Regions from separate parts of the Homo sapiens genome. Here region 2 is linked to region 1. Evidence: promoter capture Hi-C in human tissues and cell types (Jung and others, 2019). All regions are on one chromosome and are shown on one strand. The core of a region is centred on a gene start or on the middle of the fragment in contact, and the rest is flanking DNA. Distances in the headings are between cores, read along the strand shown. Region 1 holds the start of VKORC1L1 (vitamin K epoxide reductase complex subunit 1L1). Region 2 overlaps LOC105375336 (a long non-coding RNA gene).

Region 1 (6,064 bases), core at 1,302-3,801:
AAAAATGGGCCAGATGTCCATCCGTAGTAGAATGGACACGTAAAATTGTGGATATCTAATATAATGGACTATTATACAGTAATGAAAAATAACAATCACTATTCACAATAGCATGGGTAAACCTCCCAGACCTATTGATGAAAGAAGCCAGATGATCAAGAGATCTCATCAACTGAGTAAAGGAATCTATAAGAAGGGAAGTTGCAGGAGTCTACTTAGATTTATTAAAATCATTAGGGATGTAGAGTGAGGTTTTTGTTTTTTGTTTTTGTTTCTTAATCAGTGTGTCATTCTGTCATCCAGGCTGGAGTGCAGTGGGGCAACGTTGGCTCATTGCAGCCTCAATCCACACCCCTGCCCCAAGCCCTCTGGGCTCAGTCAGTCCTCCCAAGTAGCTGGAACAACAGGCATGCACCACACCTTGCTAATTTTGTATATATTTTTGCAGAGACCAGGGCTCCCTATGTTGCTCAGGCTGGTCTTGAACTGCTGGCCTCAAGCAATCCTCCTGCCTCAGCCTCTCAAAGTGTTGTGAGCCACCCCACCTGGGCAGAGCAAGGATGTTTTTGAGGACTGTGGTAGATAGCTTCCTCATATTCATGTCCTGTGTAATCCTCTCCCTCTGAGCATGGGCTGGACCTAGGGACTATTTTCTTTTTCTTTCTTTCTTTCTTTTTTTTCTTCTTTTTTTGAGATGGAGTTTTTCCTTGTAAGCCAGGCTGGAGTGCAATGGTGTGAGCTTGGCTCACTGCAACCTCCACCTCCCAGGTTCAAGTGATTCTCATGCCTCAGCTTCCCAAGTAGCTGGGTTTACAGGCATGTGCCACCGCATCCGGCTAATTTTTGTATTTTTAGTAGAGACGGGGTTTCACCATGTTGGTCAGCTGGTCTCGAACTCCTGACCTCAGGTGCTCTACCCACCTCGGCCTCCCAAAATTCTGGGATTACAGGTGTGAGCCACCATGACTGGCTGGACCTAGAGACTATTTTCTAAGTAGCAATAGACTTCGTAAAAGTGATGGGATGTCACTTCTGGGATTAGGTTTCAAAAAAGGACTGTGATCTCACTCTCATTTTCTTTTTCTGTCTCTTCCTCTTTCTCCTCCCTCTCCCTGGGGTAAGCCTGCCGCTTCTTACCAAGAGGTGCAAGTGGACAGGAAATGATGTCTCCAGCCAACAGCCAGAGAGGACCTCAGGCCTGCCAGCAGCAGTGGAAGTGAGTTTGAAAGAGGATTCTGAAGCCTTGAGAGAGCTGCAGCCCTGGCTGACAGCTTGATTGTATCCTCATGAGAGCCTGAGCCAGAGGACACAGCTAACCTCACCCAGATTCCTAGCCCGTGGAAACTGTGAGGGAAAAAAAAGTTTATTGTTTATTAACTGCTAAATTTGGGGTGATTTTTACCCAACAATAGATAACGAATACAAGGATATTGCTTATTATTCAAAATCACTATATAAAGCCCCTGAAAAATTGAAAGCTGCAACCAGGGAAACACTGAAAATCTCCAAGAACCCTGTGTTTCTTCTTAAAGACAGTGAGAAAAAGCACATACATCTGTTTTCCTTTTAGTTTTGGCCACCAGGAAGCTCAGAGCCAAATTTATGATGCAATTTTAATAACTATGTAAGCCCCTATGGCCTGCTTATCTGTGTTCTTATTCCTGGCCTTTCATTTTATTCTGACTTTTCTTTTTCTTCGTCCTGATTGTATTAGCTCATCTTTATTTTTCTATATTATATGAGTTATGGTAAGCAACTTCAAATTCAGCTTACGGAAAAGCAAGGCATTCGTAAATCTCTCTTTTTTTTTTTGAGACTCTTACTCTATCGCCCAGGCTGGAGTGCAGTGGCACGATCTTGGCTCACTGCAACCTCCACCTCCCGGGTTCCGGCAATTCTCATGCCTCAGTCTCCCGAGTAGCTGGGATTACAGGCGCCCACCACGACACCGGGCTAATTTGTTTTTGTTTGTTTTTTGTATTTTTAGTAGAGACGCGGTTACGCCATGTAGGCCAGGCTGGTCTCGAACTCCTGACCTCAAGTGATCCACCTGCCTCGGCCTCCCAAAGTGTTGGGATTACGGGTGTAAGCCACTGTACCCGGTCCATAAATCATTTTTTAAAAATAGTTTTTAAATTTAAAACATAGTTTTGCACATTAAAAAAAAAGTTTTGCACAGGTCTAACCGAAGGTGGTGGTGGGAAGATCAGGTCATAGGTGTGGGTCTCTGGAGCTCCAAGCATTGGCCAGGGTTGATTTGGATTGGGTCAGAAATATACAACGAAAAAGGGAAAAAGGATGGCAATTGATTGCCATCCCCAGAGGGAGGGGCCGAGGGTTCGCCCAGTCACCCACAGTGGCATCCTTGCAATGTGCTAGTTAGACCGCTCCTTTAAGTCCCTCCCGCACTGGCCCGCTCGGCCCCGCCCCTCTCTGGCTCCGCCCCTCCCCACCCCTGCCCCGCCCATCCCCACCCCTGCCCCACCCCTTTCTCCCCCGGGCTCCACCCCTCGCGCGCGACCGGCCGCGCGGCGCAGCGCCACGCCGCCTCAGTCTCCGCCCGCCGATCCGGCCTCTTCGGCCGTTGCGCACTCCACCCCCTCCCTCCGCGCCCGCGCGCGCCTTCCCCGCCCCGTCCGCCTCACTCCTTTTGGGGCGGTTGGGCCGCGCGCCTGTGGGGGCGGGGCCCGGAGCAGGCCACCGAGCCAATGGGGCGCGGCGGCGGCGGCGGCGGTGGTGGCGGCGGCGGCGGAGGCGGCGGTGGCGGCGGTGGCGGCTGGGTCGGGCCCCGACGGGCGGCGGCGGCTGAGGTGGAGGCGGAGGGAGGCGGCGGCGGCGGCGGCGGGAAGATGGCGGCTCCCGTCCTGCTAAGAGTGTCGGTGCCGCGGTGGGAGCGGGTGGCCCGGTATGCAGTGTGCGCTGCCGGAATCCTGCTCTCCATCTACGCCTACCACGTGGAGCGGGAGAAGGAGCGGGACCCCGAGCACCGGGCCCTCTGCGACCTGGGGCCCTGGGTGAAGTGCTCCGCCGCCCTTGCCTCCAGGTAGCCGGCTTGGGGGAGTGGGCCAGGAGCGGCCGAGCGGGGCGAGGGTGGAGTCTCGGGGTGGGGAGCGCGCGGCGGGAGCTCAGGCCTGGGGGCGGCGGGGACCGGGCCGCTGGGGAACTGACGGGGTCGGGTCGGGGCCAGGCGGGGGGCGGCGGCGGGGCGCTCCTGCCCGGGGGGCGGCCTGAGCCCAGGCCGCGGGGCGGAGGTGGCGGGGCCGCGAGGCAGCCGGGGAGGGATGAGGTGGCAGAGTGCAGCCGGGAGGCCGGGGCGGACGCGGAGCGGTCGGGCGGGCTGGGGCCCGGCTGTGCAGGAGCGCGAGGGGGCTGCGGAGGGTGGGTCCAGGCTGGCTTGACAGGTTTCCTGGTTCTCGGGAGGCGGGCCGGGGGTGTGGGACCTTGTCCACCGCACCCTTGAGACCAGCGGCAACCTCTTGTCCCCCCGATCGCTGCAGCCGAGGCTTTGGGGCCGGCGCGGAGACAGGGGGGTTGCCTTTCCCACTGTCTTCCTGGTGCTAGGACAGGTGTTTCCGTGGTCAGGCCTCTTTGTACTCCAGCGCTAGTGAGAATTTGCAGACTTAACTGGGACGGTGACATTTGCTGGCAAACACGAATTTGACCCTACTGTGGAAGAAGATACCCGCACTTAACATATCTGATTTCTTGGATTCCCTCTCGTATGTTTCAGTGTGCCAGGAGAAGGAAATGGTCTGAGTTTGGGTCTAGTTTAAGCTTCATTGGAGTAAAGGACAAGTATGTTATGTATATGGTGGTGTTTTAGGCATTGGAATGACTTTTAAACGTTGTTGCCTATTAGCATATTCGAGACCAGCATATTGGTCAGGCTGGTCTCGAACTCCTGACCTCAGGTAATCCACCCACCTCTGCCTTCCAAAGTGCTGGGAATCAAGCATGAGCCACCGCGCCTGGCCTGCTTAAGTGCTTAAAATTGACTTTTCTTGGCCGGGCACAGTGGCTCACGCCTGTAATCCCAGCACTTTGGGAGGCCGAGGCGGGTGGATCATGAGGTCAGGAGTTCAAGACCAGCCTGGCCAACATGGTGAAACCCCGTCTCTACCAAAAATACAAAAATTAGCTGGGTGTGGTGGCATGTGCCTATAGTCCCAGCTACTCGGGAGGCTGAGGCAGGAGAATTGCTTGAACCTGGGAGGCAGAGGTTGCAGTGAGCCAAGACCACACCATTGCACCCCAGCCTGGGCAACAGAATGAGACTCCATCTCAAATAAATAAATAAAATATAAATAAATAATTTTTAAAAATTGACTTGTCTTTAAAAAAGTGTATTTAGCATACACTCTAAATATTCTCATAGTTATATCCTGCAAGAGCTGCATGTTTGTGCATAAAACATCAAGTAGTATATTAAAAGTATGTATAAGTACATGTAAGACTAAAGGTAACTGGATCTCTTTATAGTTTTAAATGTGAATTTAATATGTTGTGACTGAAAGTGATGTTTCATTGTGTAGCTGTGGACATAAAATAGTTTAACTTAGATGCTTGCCAAAGGAGGGTAGGTAAAAATAAGATTTGCTAATAAGAAGAGTAGATAACTTATTTGCCATGTATACAGTGAAATTAAGAAATTTGTTCAATTTGATCAGCCTGTTTATAAACTACTTGCAAAAATCAAGTAGCTTATAAACTACCCATTTAATAAATGAATTTACAAATCAACTTGTTTTGCAGGTAGTTTATATGCAGGCTGATCAAAATCACATATGTATATATACATATATAATCACATATATGTACATATATAGACTCATTTTCTTTTGGAAGTGTGTAGACAAAACATCATTGAAAGTTTTTATTTTGTCAAGCTGAAAGACACTTTTCTTTTTTTTTCTGAGACGGAGTCTTGCTCTGTCACACAGGCTGGAGTGCAGTGGTGCGATCTCGACTCACTGCAACCTCCACCTCCCGGGTTCACTCCATTCTCCTGCCTCAGCCTCCTGAGTAGCTGGGACTACAGGCGCCCGCCACAACGCCCTGCTAATTTTTTGTATTTTTGGTAGAGACGGGGTTTCACCATGTTAGCCAGGATGGTCTCGATCTCCTGACCTCGTGATCCGCCCTCCTCGGCCTCCCAAAGTGCTGGGATTACAGACGTGAGCCACCGCGCCTAGCCTGAAACAGACTTTAAATGAAAGCTGATTATTGGACACCTCAAGTTAGTTTTTTTTGAGTGGTGATTGCCATGTAGCAGTAGTACTCAAATATGTGACTCTTTTAGGAAAAGAAAGTTTGAGCCCAGAGGAAAGTTAACAGACAAAGATTCTGAAGAAAATCATCTTCCAGGATCCAGAGTCAGCACGTGGTTTTGGATTGCTCAAACTCACTTTATTCTCATTTCGCAAGCCCTGTGTCTTAATCCAAACACGGTAAGGTAGAGATTAATGAGAGAATCTTGAGAGGCAGGTGTTATCTGTGTGTAAAGTCCTCTATTATTTTGGGGAGGCATAATGATGGAAAGTTCCAGATTTTATATTTCTAAAGAAATATTTCACCGAAATTAGTAGGCTACAATAGAAATGCTGATTTTTCAATTCTACCATGTACAGCCAGTAAAAACAATAACACACCACTATCTCCTGTCACCATCATTTCATTTAACAAAAGGATATTTCCATTCAAACAATTTGAAAGAACAGAATCTCTCAGAATAAAATATTTTTAAATGGAATCATTTAGCTATATGGAAAAGTTTACTTTCAGACCAGCCTGGCCAACATGCTGAAACCCCGTCTCTACTAAAAATACAAAACAAGCTGGGCGTGGTAGCATGCACCTGTAATCCCAGCTACTCGGGAGGCTGAGGCAGGAGAATCACTTGAACCTGGGATGCAGAGGTTGCAGTAAGCCAAGATCGCGCCATTGCACTCCAGCCTGTGTGACAGAACGAGACTCTGTCTTTAAAAAAAAAAAAAAAAAGTTTACTTTCGTGTCCTTACTTTTTCCCATTTTCCCATAAATCGGTGAAAACTCTGCTGCAAACCTG
Region 2 (6,064 bases), core at 2,240-4,739, 160 kb after region 1:
ACAGAACAAATGACATTATGGGAACATGTTAACTAAATATAAAATGGTATCCTGAGCCAGGTGCGGTGGCTCACACCTGTAATCCCAGCACTTTGGGAGGCCGAGGCAGGTGGATCACAAGGTCAGGAGATTGAGGCCATCCTGGCTAACACGGTGAAACCCCGTCTCTACTAAAAATACAAAAAATTAGCCAGGTGTGGTGGCGGGCGCCTGTAGTCCCAGCTACTATCGGGAGGCTGAGGCAGGAGAATGGCGTGAACCTGGGAGGCGGAGCTTGCAGTGAGCCGAGATCATGACACTGCACTCCAGCCTGGGCGACAGAGCGAGAGAGACTCCCTCTCAAAAAAAAAAAAAAAAAAAAAAAAAAAAAAATGGTATCCTGAACTGAATCCTGGAACTCAGAAAACAGCAGTGGGAAAACAAGGTATTCAAATAAAATTTTAGCTTAGTTTAATAGTATGTACCAATGTTAATTTCTTGGTTTTTCATGGTATAGACCATGGTTATGTAAGATGTTAACATCGGAGAAAACTATGGGAAGGGTACACAAGAACTCCCAGCACCTGTCTCTACAACTTTTATGTAAGAGAAAAATGGCTGGGCGCAGTGGCTCACACCTATAATTCGAGCACTTTGGGAGCCCAAGATCGGCGGATCACCTGAGGTTGGGAGTTCGATACCAGCCTGACTAACATGGAGAAACCCCATCTCTACTAAAAATACAAAATTAGTCAGGCGAGGTGGCGCATGCCTGTAATCCCAGCTACTCAGGAGTCTGAGGCGGGACAATCACTTAAACCTGGTAGGCGGAGGTTGTGGTGAGCCAAGATCGTGCTATTGCACTCCAGCCTGGGCAACAAGAGGGAGACTCCATCTCCAAAAAAAAAAAAGAAAAATGATTTCAAAATAAAAGGTGTTTTTTTAAAATTGATTTGCAATGGTCTGATATTTTCTCATGATTACACAGAATTTGTGGCTTTTGAAGAAGAATACAGATATAATTTGAGAGGAATTATAATTACATATTTTGGGAAGAATCTGAAACTTGAAAAATAAACAATAGCCTTAAGTGTCTAAGTCCCCAGCACTTTGGAAAGATGCGGTGAGAAGATCCCTTGAGCCCAGGGATTCAAGACCACCCTGGACAACAACAAAAAAATTAGCCAGGCATGGCAGTGCATACCCATATTCCCAGCTACTTGGGAAGCTGAGCTCGGAGCACCACTTGAGCCTGGGAGGTTGAGGCTGCAGTGAGCAGTGATTCCCTTTCAAGGAGAAGTGAGAGCAATCTTTTAGACTATTCCTTCTAACTTTGTAGCTGGCTAAACACTACACTTGACCAAACTCCTCCCACTTTTATAAACAGAATAAAAATCAGGTTACAGTAAAAGTATTCAAATCAGATAAAAGGCGATCTTGATTTCAGCAGCCAGTCGTTGGGAGAATAAACCCCCCTCCCTCAATGGTACTTTAGGTAGGCCTGGCAGAAGCCCAGCCTTACTTCATAGGTGATAGTGTTCAAGTTCTGTTGCCCAGAGCTGTGTTTATTCTTTCCACTTTCTTTACGCTGCTCTTTCAGATCAGTTAGTAAATGAAACACCCAGGAGAAGATACACAAAAGAAGTTTATGAATAAATTTGAGAAATATATCTATCTAAGGTCAGTGGTTTTGAAGGATAAACAGGAAACTGTAGTACTTCCTTTCACCCGCCCATTACGCAGCTTCCAATTCTTGGATTTGAGCAAATATGAGTCCCAGAGGCATATGACATTAAAAAAATGCTCTTTTATATAAGCCAAATAATCCAAATTCATTAATTTACCTAAAATATTTCAAATATGGCCAGGTGCGGTGCCTCATGCCTGTAATCCCAGCACTTTGGGAGGCTGAGGCGGGCGGATCATGAGGTCAGGAGATCAAGACCATCCTGGCTAAAATGGTGAAACCTCATCTCTACTAAAAATACAAAAAATTAGCCAGGCGTGGTGGCAGGCACCTGTAGTCCCAGCTACTCTTGAGGCTGAGGCAAGAGAATGGCGTGAACCTGGGAGGCAGAGGTTGCAGGTTGCTGAGATCACGCCACTGCACTCCAGCCTGGGCAACAGAGCAAGACTCCATCTCAAAAAAAAAAAAACAATTTCAAACATTTCCTATGAATATACACATCACTAATCTCCTCTGATCTCAAAAATATACTATTTGAAAGCAAATTTTCTTAAAACAAATATTTTGTTAAAAAAGAATTCTGCTTCTCTAGTATAAAAATCTAACATAGGCCAGGTGCAGTGGTGCACACCTTTAATCCCAGCACTTTGGGAGGCCAAGGCAGGCGGATCACGAGGTCAGGAGATCGACACCATCCTGGCTAACACGGTGAAACCCCATCTCTACTAAAAATACAAAAAAAATTAGCCGGGCGTGGTGGCGGGCGCCTGTAGTCCCAGCTACCCGGGAGGCTGAGGCAGAAGAATGGCATGAGCCCGGGAGGTGGAGCTTGCAGTGAGGCGAGATCATGCCACTGCACTCCAGCCTGGGCGACAGAGTGAGACTCAATCTCAAAAAAAAAAAAAAAAAAAAAATCTAACATAATAATTTCTTTCTGGAAAAGAAAAATTTTGAAGCAAGTGATAAGACAGAGTTTACCAAAAAAAGGGGAGGAAAAAATGCTATGGATTTTTAGAAGCAAACTTTCCCCACAAGGATAAAACATGCATGCATTAGAGTGCTGGAGGCAGGGGGGAATCTCAGTCTCATTCCTGTTTTAGAGATTCTACCACAGAAGTGAAGAAAATGCAGGCTCACACACCATCACTAAATACAATGCGACCCCTCTCATCTGCTGTTCCTTTCAGAAATAGTGGCATGAGATCAATGAATGCAATGTTTCCCCAATGGATAAAACACCCAAACGCCTAGCAAAGTCCAAACTGGACAAGGAGGCTCCTAAAAGCCAAAGGCTTGGCCAAAAACCATTCAACCATTTCCTTCCTGTTCTAAGCTGCAACCACTTGAGACTGAGCCTTTAGAGAGGAAAGAATATGGCCAACTCTGTTTATTCTACTACCTTCTTTTCTTTTGGGGGGATGTGGAAGGGAGGCGGTTTCTTTCTTTTTGCTGTCTTCCACTCTGGGAGCTTTTTTTAGGGGACAGGGTCCCAAAGGCTGTCTCCCAGGCTAGAGTACAGTGGTCATCACTGTAACCTCAAACTCCTGGGCTGAAGCAAACCTCCCCTCTGCCTTCCAAGTAGCTAGGACCATAGTAGGTGTTTGCTACCATGCCCAGCTAATTTATTTTTTTAAGAGCTGGGGGTCTTGCTAGGTTTCCCAGGCTGATCTCTAACTCATAGCCTCAAGCAGTCTTCTCTCCTTGGCCTTCCAAAGTGCTGAGATTACAGGCATGAGCCACAGCACTTAAGCTACTACCTTCTAGACCTCCTCTGAGTCTTCCTGAGTTTAGACTCTAGCACATGGAAAATTCACAGTCAAGGTATAAATGGTTCTTTCTACACCTGGAGTGAGCCTATCAGATGGTTTTGCTAGTGCCAAATAGGAGGCAAAAATGCTGGAATATCTTCCGTCTTACCAATCTTTTTCCTTCTTTTCCTTTCCCTGGGAACCCCACCCTAGGCCCCAAAAATTATAAATTTGTTAATTTCTACTATTCAGAAAGGTGAGTCAACTAAACTCACTTTCAAAATAACAATGTTAATACCCAAAAGACTATTTGAAGATTAAAATAACAATGTATAAAAGCATTATAAATATATAAATATATCAAGGGTGATAATTAGGAAAAAGCATAAATATTTCAATGGGAAATTTTGCAGAAACAGCTCTAAAATAGATGCTTCTATCCTATGACTACATCCCAAATGATTATCTAGAATCTTTGAGATTTACTGAAATTTGCCTGCTCTGAATTAGAGTCTTCCCAGCTTCCCTGAAGTACTACGTATACGTATAACATATAAAGCTTAGACTATTCCAAGGTCCACTAGATGGTGCCACATGTCTTGTTTTGAAGTGGAAAATTCAACTACATCCTTTTTTTTTTTTTTTTTTTTGGAGACAGAGCCTGGCTCTATTGCCCAGGCTGGAGTGCAGTGGCGTGATCTTGGCTCATTGCAACCTCCCCCTCCCAGGTTCAAGTGATCCTCCTACCTCAGTTGGGATCCCAAGGAGCTGGGACTACAGGCACGTGCCACCACAGCTGGCTAATTTTTGTATTTTTAGTAAAGATGGGGTTACACCATGTTGACCAGCCTGGTTTCGAACTCCTGACCTCAAGTGATCCATCTGCCTCAGCCTCCCAAAGTGCTGGGATTATAGGCGTGAGCCATTGCACCTAGTCTGAATTCAGTCATTTCTAACCAAAATCAATTCAACAATCTTACAAGCAAAGGGCAAATTATCAGAGAGGAAAATGTAACAGTTCAATTTACCACGTAGTTACTGAGAAGCGCAGAATCGACATCCTTCCTGAAAAAGAAAAGTAAGTTATCAGTCTGGGCTCACACCCCTTTCTGGGTATCAAATATCTGTAAAAGAATTCCCATCTGCCGGGCGCTGTGGCTCACACCTGTAATCCCAGCACTTTGGGAGGCCAAGACGGGCGAATCACATGGTCAGGAGATTGAGACCATCCTGGCTAACACAGTGAAACCCCGTCTCTACTAAAATGCAAAAAATTAGCCAGGTGTGGTGGCGGGCGCCTGTAGTCCCAGCTACTCAGGAGGCTGAGGCAGGAGGATGGCATAAACCCAGGAGGCGGAGTTTGCAGTGAGCAAAGATCACGCCACTGCACTCCAGCCTGGGCGACAGAGCGAGACTCCGTCTTAATAATAATAATAATAATAATAATAATTCCTGTCAAGTTGGGGGCCAGGCACGGTGGCTCACACCTGTAATCCCAGCACTTTGGGAGGCCGAAGCAGGCGGATCATGAGGTCAGGAAATCAAGACCATCCTGGCTATCATGGTGAAACCCCGTTTCTACAATCAATCAATCAATCAATCAATAAAATACAAAAAAAAATCAGCCGGGCGTGGTGGCAGGTGCCTGTAGTCCCAGCTACTCGGGAGGCTGAGGCAGGAGAATGGCATGAACCGGGGAGGCAGAGCTTGCAGTGAGCCGAGATCGCGACACTGCACTCCAGCCTGGGCAACACAGAGAGACTCTGTCTCAAAAAAAAAAAAAAAAAAAAAGAATTCCTGTCAAGATGTAGTAGTCCGCTTTTAGAATTTGGGGACTACCACCTAAAACTGAAACTGAGAAATGTCTTAAGTCCAACATGGTTTAGCTAGCTGTGGGCAATTTCAGAGCAGACTTGGGAACAAAGTGCTGTCCCATCCAACAGCCATGTCCTCTCCCCATTATTATCTGCCTCCCATCAGCTATTGACATCTTGGGCAGCCACGTCCTCCTGCTGAATCAACAGAAATGGCCCACTTAACACCAATGTCACCACTGGGAATTCCAGCCATGGGCAAGTATCCTGCCAAATATCCACCATGCTCCCAGGGTGTTCACCACCTACGTCAACTCAACAGGTACAGTCAGGGTGGCAAGCAGTGGCCAAAAGCCTGGTTCCCTGTGTAACAGTTAATCCAGGCAATATGCCATCTTTCCTGAGTGAAGAAACAACAATGTGATGTATATTAAATCACAATCGATCCACTCTACAATAGCATATCAGAAAGCATTGTTTTCAGCAGTCTGCAGGCAGTGGAGTATGACAAAGAATATAGTTTTGAAATCAGATTTGGGTTCACATTCTAGCTCTGCCATTTATATGCTGTGAGAGTTTTAGTTAATTACTCCCTAAGTTTTCCTTCTAAACTAAAAATGGGATGAAACTAGTATCTAAAAGTGTGGCCTGGATTTCAATCCAGCTCTTGCATTCTTTGGCTATGTGAATCTGGGCAAGTTACTTAATCTCATTATGCTTAAATTTCCTATCTATCAAATGGCAATTATAGTATCAACCTTGTAAGACTGTTCACAGGGTTCACTGGAAACATGTAAAATACCCGGAACATATTAAGTGCTCAATAAGCACCAACG

The links. Contacts are between HindIII fragments. The study calls those that stand out against the background at their distance.
Region 2: a contact is called between a fragment that was not itself captured here and the fragment with the promoter of VKORC1L1 in region 1, in 1 of the 25 tissues and cell types used here (liver).

The regions. Positions count from the first base shown.
Region 1 is chr7:65,870,523-65,876,586 of GRCh38, forward strand. It overlaps VKORC1L1 (vitamin K epoxide reductase complex subunit 1L1), which reads left to right and starts at 2,552. Exons shown (of 3, transcript NM_173517.6): 1 at 2,552-3,043. The coding sequence starts at 2,850. RefSeq lists silencers at 2,244-2,303, 2,324-2,823, 2,537-2,716, 3,264-3,333 and enhancers at 2,399-2,950, 3,502-4,053. The HindIII fragment of the contact is 24,487 bases long and covers 1-6,064 here.
Region 2 is chr7:66,027,058-66,033,121 of GRCh38, forward strand. LOC105375336 (a long non-coding RNA gene) reads right to left here. Exons shown (of 5, transcript XR_002956511.2): 3 at 4,443-4,479. It also overlaps the pseudogene LOC100419772. Among named protein-coding and RNA genes, the nearest start is that of ASL, 46 kb to the right of the region's middle. The HindIII fragment of the contact is 3,671 bases long and covers 1,655-5,325 here.